Linked DNA regions of Homo sapiens: regions 1, 2 and 4 are each linked to region 3. The links are contacts of gene promoters, found by promoter capture Hi-C in human tissues and cell types (Jung and others, 2019). All regions are on one chromosome and are shown on one strand. The core of a region is centred on a gene start or on the middle of the fragment in contact, and the rest is flanking DNA. Distances in the headings are between cores, read along the strand shown. Region 1 has its middle 190 kb from the start of MIR3668. Region 2 has its middle 180 kb from the start of MIR4465. Region 3 holds the start of CITED2 (Cbp/p300 interacting transactivator with Glu/Asp rich carboxy-terminal domain 2). Region 4 overlaps LOC105378027 (a long non-coding RNA gene).

Region 1 (2,700 bases), core at 83-2,582, 1.0 Mb before region 3:
GTGCTGTAAGTACCATAGCTGCATGCTTTCTTAAAAAAAAAAAAAAGATTTTAAAGACCTCCATTATCGTTATCCTATAGCTCTCCAGATATAAGTTCTAAGGCTGTGAAAAAGAAAATTTACTGGATATAACAGAACTTTAGAGCATTGTAGATATTTTTTAGAAACATTAAATAACTGGAAAAATACTGGAGGTAATATTCGGTCCCAGGTGGCAGATGTCGACTAATTTCTTAAACATACGTATAATTGACAATTTTCCTGTTTTTTTTTTTTTATATTTGGAAAGCTGAACATGGTACATGAAGCAAACAAGATCAAGACCTCAGCATCCTCTCTGCTAACCACAAGTGGTTGATTTTGTTCAAAGCTGCTCTATCCTCTCACCTTGGTGAATATTTTAATCCCTAAAGGTGACAGCAGCCTGTGTTTGAAAGTCTTTCATTTTGAAAATAAGCAGAGGCTCTAAAAAACCTCAGGAGTTCAAATAGGGTAATAAGACCTTGAATTTGGTTCTCAGGAGATTGCTTACCAGTTTGCTAAATAATATATGGTAATTTTCTTGCTGCCCATCTGGCCCCCGAGGTACTCTTGTCTTCCCATAGTCATCTCCTTCTACATGCTCTGTTTTCTGCTATATTGAAATATGTTTTGTTGCTGAGTATTGGTATAACATCAGTTGTTAATGCACAATTATATTCAAGAAATATATGTAGTATCTCTCCATTATGGGTCACTAAGACTCTCTCAATTCTATACCTTGAACCCCTTCCTTATGCAAATTTCAGTGTTGGAAATATAAACGAGGATGCAGTAACTTCCATCAAAGGGCTTGAAATCTTTAGCTACATAAAGAAAGTTACTCAAATATTCATAACCCAAGGTGAATTAACATAAATGCCATATTAAAATGCAAATCAAGCAACATTCAAAGGTTGAAAGAAAAGAGAATATTGAGGGGTTAAGAAAACAGAATATGGCAGATACATAATCAATTGTGTACCTGGAAGAATGAGTTAATATTAACACAGAAAGTTGGGAGTCAGAGAGAATTTCAGGTAGAAATAACATTAACAAAACCCATAAGAGTTTATCAGAGTCCTACTGGAAGCAGTAAAAGTAATACAACTTTAAACATGGAGATACAACAGTGAGCAGCAGGAGGGAGGCATATTAGGAAGGAATATTAGAAAAATACTACTACTGGAAAATGCCTGGCTGGAGAATTTATTATTCAGAATATTCAGATAACCAATGAAATTTAAATAATTATGTATAAGGCGGGGCCCAATATGATTCCATATGCACTTTGGGAAGTATAATCTGACAAAAAAATTAACAAGAAGTGATACGGGATGCATAGCTTCTCTTTTTCTCCCCTAAGTTCTATAAACTACCTTAACCTAAAGGATGATAAAGATTTGCCAATCTTGGACTGTGCAACTAAGTAGTTGCACGGTGGTGTTCAACAAGTAACATGTTAATATTTATTTACTACATAGAACTAGTAATTTTTACTGACAGCTTTCCAGGCATTTTCAAGAGGCATACTTCCCCCACTGTATTTTTGTGTGACACACACGCACACTGATCCCTAATACATATACGTGGATACATGCACATGGATATATATATACATGGATTGCTCAGAGTGTAGACAGCAGTTTGCTTTAAATAAGGAGAAAATTACCCCCATTTAAAAATACCATAAGTGATGGTAGATGTGGTCATTTTAAAAAATACTCCTTAATGCCTATAATGAGAAGGGAGTGGATTCTATTGTTTCAGGGAGGCAGGAAATCAATATGGAAACAATGGACTTGAACTACACTCTAGACCAGACCAAAGGAACCTAATAGACGTATACAGAACATTCCATTCAATCCCTACAGACTACACATTTTTCTCAAGTGCACAAAACATTCTCCAGGATAGATTATATGTTAGGTCACAAAACAAATCTTAATAAATTTAAGAAAATTGAAATCATATCAAGTATATTTTCTGAACATAATGGCATGAAACTACAAGTCAGTAACAGAATAAAATTTGGAAAATTTATAAATATGTAGAAATTAAACAACATGATCCTAAACAACCAATCGATCAAGGAAGAAATTAAAAGCAAAATTAAAACATATGTTGAGAAAAATGAAAATGGAAACACAACATACCAAAGCTTATAGGATGCAGTGAAAATAGTTCTAAGACAGAAGTTTATAGCAATAAACACATCTGAAAAGCAGAAAGATCACAACTAAACAACCTAATATTAAACCTCAAAAAACAGAAAGAGAAGAATAACTAGCCCAGAGTTAATAGCAGGAAAGAAATAACGTCAGAGCAGAAAGAAATCAAATAAATCCTAGAAAAATGATAGAAAAGATAAACAAAAGAGAGGTTTTTTTTAAAAAAGATAAACAAAATCAACAAACTTTTTACTAGTCTAACTAAAAAAGAGAGAGAAGCTAAAAGCATCTTTTATTCTTTAGGCACTCCATCTCTTGCAGCAAGGAATGACCATCTGACTGAATTTTTGATCAGTGAGGTATAAGCAGATGTCTTCCAGAAAGACTTTTTGTATGAGCTTTATTGTGATATAATTCACATACCCTAAAATTCACATAGTTAAAGCATCAGATTAAATTCCTTTTCGTATATTTACAAAGTTTTGCAATCATCATCACAGTCAATTGTAGA
Region 2 (2,700 bases), core at 62-2,561, 1.1 Mb before region 3:
ATTCAGAGTTACTAGTTAAAAGTAACATACTTCTGATACCTTAGTAGGTACTCCCAATATTTTAGACATTAACAATTTTTAAAATTTGTAACAACGTATTTTGGTTAATTGTTCAACATTTTAATTGATAAATACTTTTGAAGTAACATTTTATGCCTAGTATAGCCTACAATAACAAATAATAATAATTTATTTTAAATAAATGAAATAAATTAAAGAATTATTTTAATTTTAAATGAAAATAAGTTCCAACAGCATAATGTATATTTAACCTTAAATTCTCACCACTCAACAATTGAAATTCTGATATCCTAAATATTCTACTTCACTAAAATAATAAATACCAGAAATTAGATTGTAATTAGTTAAAATTAAAAAGGGCAGAAACATAACTGAGAAAATATAACTAACCTTTTTAGAAATTGGGTTTTTTTTTTTTTTTTACTTAGCCGCTAATTTATTCAGTTAGTGTATCATTTTTTTGTGTGTGCTAAGTAATTAGCAGGTCACATCAGAAGATAGAAAAAAATGTTTAACAGAAACATCTACTTCTTTTTAATACCTTTGGGATCATTACCTCTGCTATGACCTCAGTGTAATTGTAACAATTTAGATAATCTTTATTTATACTAAAATACATGAAAGATATATGCTAATTTTAAAGCTTAAAAATAGAACAGAAATTAAAGAAGCCTTTTCCTCATGGCTGAAAGTGCATAAAATTAATTTGAGTCCTATGAATTTACTCTAATAATAGTTCAATTTGTGTGACAAATGCTTCTAAGTAATTTATACTAAAACTCTATTCTTATCTACAAATAACAAATTCCACTTACCAAATCTAACATCTTTATTAGCAAAATATACATGTTGCCCCTTATTTGCACATAAGTATACTTGGTGATGTGGGCCTGAAGACATTTAAGAAAAATATCAAGTACTCAAACGAACTATGGTAATAAGTATCATATAAATTGAATGGAAATGAACTAGATAGTGGCAGATCTTGTAGATTAAAATACATTTAAGGAACATTTAAATTTAAAAAGTAAAAGGTAACAGCTAAAATACCAAATTGAGTAGTACTCACTATGCATAAAAAACCCATAAAAAGTACGTTAGTGCTTTTGATTAAATGTACAAATACAAGTTCTATTATTCTTGAATCCACTAAAATAGATTATCAAAGGCACATTCTGAGTGTGAGGACCTCACACAAATGCTCTTGGTGACTTTCCTTTAATGCCAAGAGCCTGTCCTGGAAATCTTCATCCTTAACAAGACACCATGCGCAAAATTTATAATCTGACAGCTCTCCCCTCTTACAATTTATTACTGACATCTTCTCATCCTGTTCTACACAAAACCACTGATGGTTCAAAAAATACCTATAAACTCAGAAGAGAAATTGTCATGAGCCTTAGTTCATAAACTTTAAAGTAGTTTTTATGGCATTCATTCTCTGAACCTGGGATAACCTCACTATGTGTCTTGCCCATAATGTGCTGATCTCATTTTTCCTTATTCACGACCAAGCACACAAAAATAATTTAGTTATTTTTAGTGATTAGATTTAAAGACATGCCAGAATTAAAAAATATATAATTTATTTATTTTGCAAGAGACATCCAGGGCTCCATTCTACCATTGTAGACTCCTGTGTCATTCTCTCATCCCATGGAGCCAGAATTCTAGGCACATTTGGCTTCTCAACATTTGCTAAATATTCTGTATATTTTTATGGTTCTACATCTTTAAATGTACATATCTTGTTTTCTAAAATGCCGTTCTTCAGTCTCAATTTTCTGTCAGGCAAATGTCTCTTTAAACAAAGTCAATACCAATATTATTTCCATTCCACCGCTTCCATCTCTGACCTCATTTCCTTCCACTGACCCAACCAAATGTATCACATTTATATTTTATTCCATGGCACTTTATATTCTCTTGTTGTTGAGGTGATGCTAGCACACTGAGAACCCTGGATCCAGAGTCAGACGCCCTGAGTTTGAGTCATGACTCTCATTGATGAGCTGTGCAACCTTGCGCATATTCCTCAATCTTTACAGGTTTCAGTTTCCTCCTTGTTGAAATGGGCATAAGAGTAATTATGATTGTTGTAAGCATTAAATAAGATAATGCATGTGGAAAACTTAGAAGTGTGCTTAGCACATGCTCAATCATTTTACCTATTATTTACCAAGTTATTTGAAAATATACTTGGCCTGCCCAGGCGCCGTGGCTCACGCCTGTAATCCCAGCACTTAGGGAGGCCGAGGTGGGCGGATCACCTGAGGTCGGGTGTTCAAGACCAGCCTGAGCAACATGGAGAAACCCAGTATCTACTAAAAATTCAAAAATTAGCTGGGCATGGTGGCACATGCCTGTAATCCCAGCTACTCAGGAGGCTGAGGCAGGAGAATCATCGCTTGAACCCAGGATGTGGAGGTTGCCATGAGCCAAGATCACGCCACTGCACTCCAGTCTGGGCAACAAGAGAGAAACTCTGTCTCAGAAAAAGAAAAAAGAAAAGAAAAGAAAATATACTTGACTAATAACTAAGAATAAAATATTATTTTCTAATAACTTCTAGAAAGAAGGGATTTTTAAAATCATCTTTCTGTCATCAATGATTATTGCCTAGATAACAACAGTAAAACCTCAACAAAGGGTGATTTTAATTGCTCAATTGCTCTATGT
Region 3 (2,700 bases), core at 178-2,677:
CATAAAGAGCAATGTAAAAGCTCAGAACAGCCCCATCATGGTGTTGGGGAAACAACTCGGCTTCCCCATGTGAGAAAGCCAGAGAGCTCCGACTTGGTAGTAGCCCAGACCTGTGTTAGGGGTTTTATTTGCAAGTCAATGAACCAAACGGGCGACCAGGCTCGTTGTGCCGCGTTGTGGAAGCAAGGTTATTATTATCGCCCATTGCCCCACTGAACAATTTCACTGAAAAGGAAGAGTCCCAGCCGTGTGTGTGCGCGTGGTGCCATACGGGACGTGCAGCTACGTGCCCACCTCCAGAACGACTTTATTTACAAAGCGATTACCACGTTATCTATTTGTTTTCCTTTTCCAGCAAGAGCAGCCTTACTCAGCCCTCAAATTTCTTAATTACAAACCCGTTTGCTTCTAAATCAACCCCAAACCGTCAGGCAGAGCCCGGAGGGAGGCTCTGCAAGTTTGTACACACCCCCACCTCCCGGATCCAGGGCAACAGCAGAAGCAAGTAACTGTGTATGTGCAAAAAGGTGGATCTGGGGACGAGGATCGCTGAGTTTGTTTACAGAGCAGAGACGCCTCAGCTCGGATGCCAAAGCTACCAAGAGCTGCAAACGCAAACTTAGCAGAAGCACACGTACCCCGGGAGCGGCAGGCGGGCCCGAAAGCGCGGACTGGAATTCCAGGGCGCGGGAGCGGGGGTGGCCGGGCCCTCGAGCGCGCTCCGTCCACCTGCAGCGGCTGCCCCTCCCCGCCCCCAGCTCCTGTCCTTGAAAGGAGTGGAGGAAAAAAATGCATCTACAAGCGGTGATCTAGAGTAGGTCTACCCACTGCCCGTATGAAAACACAAAGGCACAGCCTAGGAAGGCGCGCTCAGGAAAGGGCGCATTATTTGTCCGGGTCTTTAAAACCCAACTCGAGGAAGCACAGCCATTCTTCGCTGCCTGTGGAAGCTTTTGCAAAACCGGGGAGGCACAAGGGCACTCTGGAGGGCGGGGGGCGCTGGGCGAGTCCCCTTTTCCCGTAGAGAGCGGGGCAGATCGCTAGGTGAACCGAGTGAGAAAGCTGGGGGTGGGGTAGATCCAGCCTGAGGGGGGCGGTGAGCTCTCCTCGTGGCTATCCCGGCAGGCTCTACCTTCGGGCGGGGCGGCAGGGGAGGATTTTCCCCCTGCCTCGGGGGTGGCTGAGCCAACCTCGCGTTTCTGGGCCGGGAAGAAACCAGAGTCGGGGGGCGACGGGGCGACTGGGCGGCCCCCGGGCCCCGCAGCCTCTGCAGCACGTGCCGCGGGCGGCGGGGACGCGGCTCCGGGACCCGGTCCAGGGTGTTCGCGGTGTTCCGGAATCCGCGTCTTGGCGCCGCCCGCCCTGGAGGCTCTCGCTCCGCCTTTCCGAAATGCCTATATTAACTGTGGCCAAAGCCCTAAGAAACACAGCTCATTGTTGGCAGCTGCCGGGCGGTCCTGCCGAGCTGTGAGGGCAACGGAGGGGAAATAAAAGGGAACGGCTCCGAATCTGCCCCAGCGGCCGCTGCGAGACCTCGGCGCCGACATCGCGACAGCGAAGCGCTTTGCACGCCAGGAAGGTCCCCTCTATGTGCTGCTGAGCCGGTCCTGGACGCGACGAGCCCGCCCTCGGTCTTCGGAGCAGAAATCGCAAAAACGGAAGGTAAGCGCGACGGGCGAAGCTGGCTGGGGCTCTTGCCAGCCCAGTCCTCCGAGGGCAGGGTTTGCCCGGAGGAAGAGCGTGAGGCGAAGCTGGGGAATAACAACAGGATGTGCAACAACAGGATGAGGAGGGCTGATTTAATGCCTGAAGTTCGCAGCAGGGCTACGGGGCACTTCCTTTATTAGGCCACTTCGGGGAGCAAAGGGGGTGTGGGCTCGGGTCCCCCCGCCCGATCGCAGGGGAAGGGGCTGTTTGTGCAGCGTCCGGCTGTGTTATGAGTGGTAGCTCTTCCGTGGTGGCTAGCCCGGGTGCACAGGCTGTTAGTGGGATCTTGGGGGTGGTGGTTCGCAGCCGACGTGCGCCCGGGAATCCTGGGGGGCAGAGGCGAGCAAAAGTGGGGTGCGCTGTGGTGGGCGACACGTGTGGCGCGGGTCTCATTATCTGCCCTTTTCACTTCCAGGACTGGAAATGGCAGACCATATGATGGCCATGAACCACGGGCGCTTCCCCGACGGCACCAATGGGCTGCACCATCACCCTGCCCACCGCATGGGCATGGGGCAGTTCCCGAGCCCCCATCACCACCAGCAGCAGCAGCCCCAGCACGCCTTCAACGCCCTAATGGGCGAGCACATACACTACGGCGCGGGCAACATGAATGCCACGAGCGGCATCAGGCATGCGATGGGGCCGGGGACTGTGAACGGAGGGCACCCCCCGAGCGCGCTGGCCCCCGCGGCCAGGTTTAACAACTCCCAGTTCATGGGTCCCCCGGTGGCCAGCCAGGGAGGCTCCCTGCCGGCCAGCATGCAGCTGCAGAAGCTCAACAACCAGTATTTCAACCATCACCCCTACCCCCACAACCACTACATGCCGGATTTGCACCCTGCTGCAGGCCACCAGATGAACGGGACAAACCAGCACTTCCGAGATTGCAACCCCAAGCACAGCGGCGGCAGCAGCACCCCCGGCGGCTCGGGCGGCAGCAGCACCCCCGGCGGCTCTGGCAGCAGCTCGGGCGGCGGCGCGGGCAGCAGC
Region 4 (2,736 bases), core at 232-2,731, 1.2 Mb before region 3:
ACCCATATTTGCTTTCTGATAAGTCAAGTCACACATACTCAAAAACACTTACTGAAAAAATTAAGTGATTTTTAAATGAAATGAAAAATGCAGTTTGGGGTGCTAGAAAGGTAGTTCTAAGACTTACTGGTCCATTTAAAAATCCTGAAGAAATGGAATTTGAACTTGATTTTACAATTGGTTAAAAGGAATGGCTCAGCTTTTATTTTTTTGAAAACATTCAGCTGATACCCTCACCTAATTATCTGTTGGTTGTTATGTAGATTTAATGCAATATCATCATTAAAAGAATGTTAAAACATTTTAAACTCAAAGCTTTATATAATTGTGTTGTTTTAAAATTTTTTCAGGTAAAGAAAATAGTTTCTTATTAAGACATGGTTTTTATATGTACAGATTAAAGGTTATTTTCTAGTCATTTCTTCTGTTTATTATGAAAGTTACAAAAATATGCACAAATTGAGAAGAATATGATCAATCTCCATGTGGTCATAATTCAATGTTTACAATTATCAATTAATGGTCAATTTTCTACATATATAGCTCCCTAAGAAAGATTATGAATGAAAGAACAACCATTGGACCATGATTATCTGTATATATTTCAGTATATAATTCTACAAAATTAGGGCCCTTTTTATAAAAATAACATTTAATCATTATCTCATCTAAGATAAATTAACACTAATTACTTTAATGTCACCAGTTATCTAATTAATGTTCAAATTTTCTCAATTGTATCATAATTTTTATTACAGTTTGTTTGATCAGAATTCAAATAAGGTCCATACACAGCAACAGATTGGTATATCTTAGTCTTATTTAATTGCTAAGTTCTCATTTCATCTATTTTTTATTTCAAGATTTTTGCTCTTATTGTTTAAAAAAAACAAGGTTATTGAATCAATTTCTATACTTTTGATTTTATTTATTTCAGATGTATTTAAAAATACTAGGCAAATAAAGCGTATTTTTGGGAAAGAGCTTAGTACAACACCTGTCACATGGTAACTACTCCATAATCCTTAACTACTCTGTATCCTTGATGACCATTCAAAGTATATCCTGCTGCAGTAATTCTAAACCAAAGGCAGATCCACAGCTGACCATCCCTCTCTGGATAGTGGCATTCATGGCAGTCATAGTGGCCGAATTCACATTTTGAATTGTGTCCCTCCAACAGATATATTGAAGTCCTAACCTCTGGTACCTGTGAATGTGACCTTATTTGGCAATAGTGTCTTCACAGATGTACTCAAGTTACACAAAGTTCATACCTATTTAGATTGAGCCTTAGTCCAAGATGACTGGTGGCCTTATAAGAAGAGAAAAGAGAGGAACAGATTGAGACACACAGGGAGAATGCCACATGATGACAGAGGTAGAAATGAGAGTGATGCATTTACCTGTCAAGGGGTGCCAAGCATTGCCAGCAAAACTAGAAGCTAAGAGAGAGAGCCATAGAATAGACTTTCCCTTAGAGCCTTCAGAAAGCATGCCCTGCCAACAACTCAAGTATTGACTTCTGGCCTCCAGAACTGTGAGAGAATAAATATTGTTTAAGCTACCCTGCTTGTAGTAGTTTTTTTCAGCAGCCTTAGGAAACTAATTCATATTCCATCAGCAACCCATCTTGAGTTAGGAAAGAGTAAAGTCTAATATTGAGAAAATAAAAGAAAGATTAATGTTAGAAAGAAGCTCATATGATGTCTTAAAAAGAAATTGGAGAGATTAATGATGACGGGAAGAAATGGACAACAAAGGGAAGATCGGTACGAAGAGAAGGTTTTGTATAGATGCTCTGTTTAACATCAGAGGATACAAAATAAGAGACATTGGGGAAATGGAAGAAACCATAAGACTCTCTTCATTGTCATTGTTACTACTGCACGAAGGCAGTGACCCAATCCCTGAAATTCAATGGGATTCTGAAATTTCTGCCCATAAGTAAAGTTGAAAACTGCATAGAAATATTTTCTATGGTGCAAGAAGGAGAAAATAACAGAGATTTTGGTAAAGTGTTAAGATATTCCTTTATTTTTCTAGTCTGATGAATGAATTAAGAATTGTACTGGCCTAAAAGCAAATGAAATCTTTATTTGTCTCTCATGGAGAAGACTCTGAAGGTGAACAGAACAGGGCTGATATGGGCAACTATAATCATCAGAGAGCCAGCCTACTCTTGTCCTTTTTTCACCTTTCTAACTTGTGGTTATAACTTCGTATCATCTTAAGGACCATAAAGGTTGAAGCATCAGCCATTACATTACAGGTCCAAGCCTAAAGGAGGAAATAAGTGGACCGGTCAAAAAGTACTTTCTGCCTGAGATATCAATTTTAAGTAGTCCTCACAAAGGCTTGCATTTTAAAATACATCTCATTGGCCAACATTAGTCACTTGGTTACATTTAGCTAAGAGCTCATACAATTCGGACAAAAATCATCCAGGATTTTTTGACTGATGTAGTATCATATAGAATAAATTTACTTCTGAAGGTGAATGTTTGTAACTAAGCTGAATTACTCCACATCAGGCTTACAATCCAGCCATCAAGAAAATGTTTAAAGCTTGCCTGGGACCAACCGGGTGAATTTGACTCAGTCAATTCTTTGTTCCAAGTGTTACTTGAAATATCTATACTCGCCTCAGCCGCCATTTTGCATTAGCTAAAATCAGTTTGTTTAGCACTTTTAAAAACACCCTTTTTTCTTCTCTCCACTTTCCCCCATCCCCTC

What was found. Contacts are between HindIII fragments. The study calls those that stand out against the background at their distance.
Region 1: a contact is called between a fragment that was not itself captured here and the fragment with the promoter of CITED2 in region 3, in 1 of the 25 tissues and cell types used here (lymphoblastoid cells).
Region 2: a contact is called between a fragment that was not itself captured here and the fragment with the promoter of CITED2 in region 3, in 1 of the 25 tissues and cell types used here (lymphoblastoid cells).
Region 4: a fragment that was not itself captured here is called in contact with the fragment with the promoter of CITED2 in region 3 in 1 of the 25 tissues and cell types used here (lymphoblastoid cells).

The regions. Positions count from the first base shown.
Region 1 is chr6:140,394,232-140,396,931 of GRCh38, reverse strand. No RefSeq gene overlaps it. Among named protein-coding and RNA genes, the nearest start is that of MIR3668, 190 kb to the right of the region's middle. The HindIII fragment of the contact is 3,780 bases long and covers 1-2,700 here.
Region 2 is chr6:140,507,412-140,510,111 of GRCh38, reverse strand. No RefSeq gene overlaps it. Among named protein-coding and RNA genes, the nearest start is that of MIR4465, 180 kb to the left of the region's middle. The HindIII fragment of the contact is 4,567 bases long and covers 1-2,700 here.
Region 3 is chr6:139,373,375-139,376,074 of GRCh38, reverse strand. It overlaps CITED2 (Cbp/p300 interacting transactivator with Glu/Asp rich carboxy-terminal domain 2), which reads left to right and starts at 1,427. Exons shown (of 2, transcript NM_006079.5): 1 at 1,427-1,662; 2 at 2,123-2,700. The coding sequence starts at 2,131. RefSeq lists silencers at 579-888, 1,059-1,438, 1,899-2,048, 2,619-2,700 and enhancers at 1,589-1,758, 2,269-2,328. The HindIII fragment of the contact is 4,975 bases long and covers 1-2,700 here.
Region 4 is chr6:140,557,190-140,559,925 of GRCh38, reverse strand. The region is part of intron 1 of LOC105378027 (a long non-coding RNA gene); the gene reads right to left. Among named protein-coding and RNA genes, the nearest start is that of MIR4465, 130 kb to the left of the region's middle. The HindIII fragment of the contact is 5,092 bases long and covers 1-2,736 here.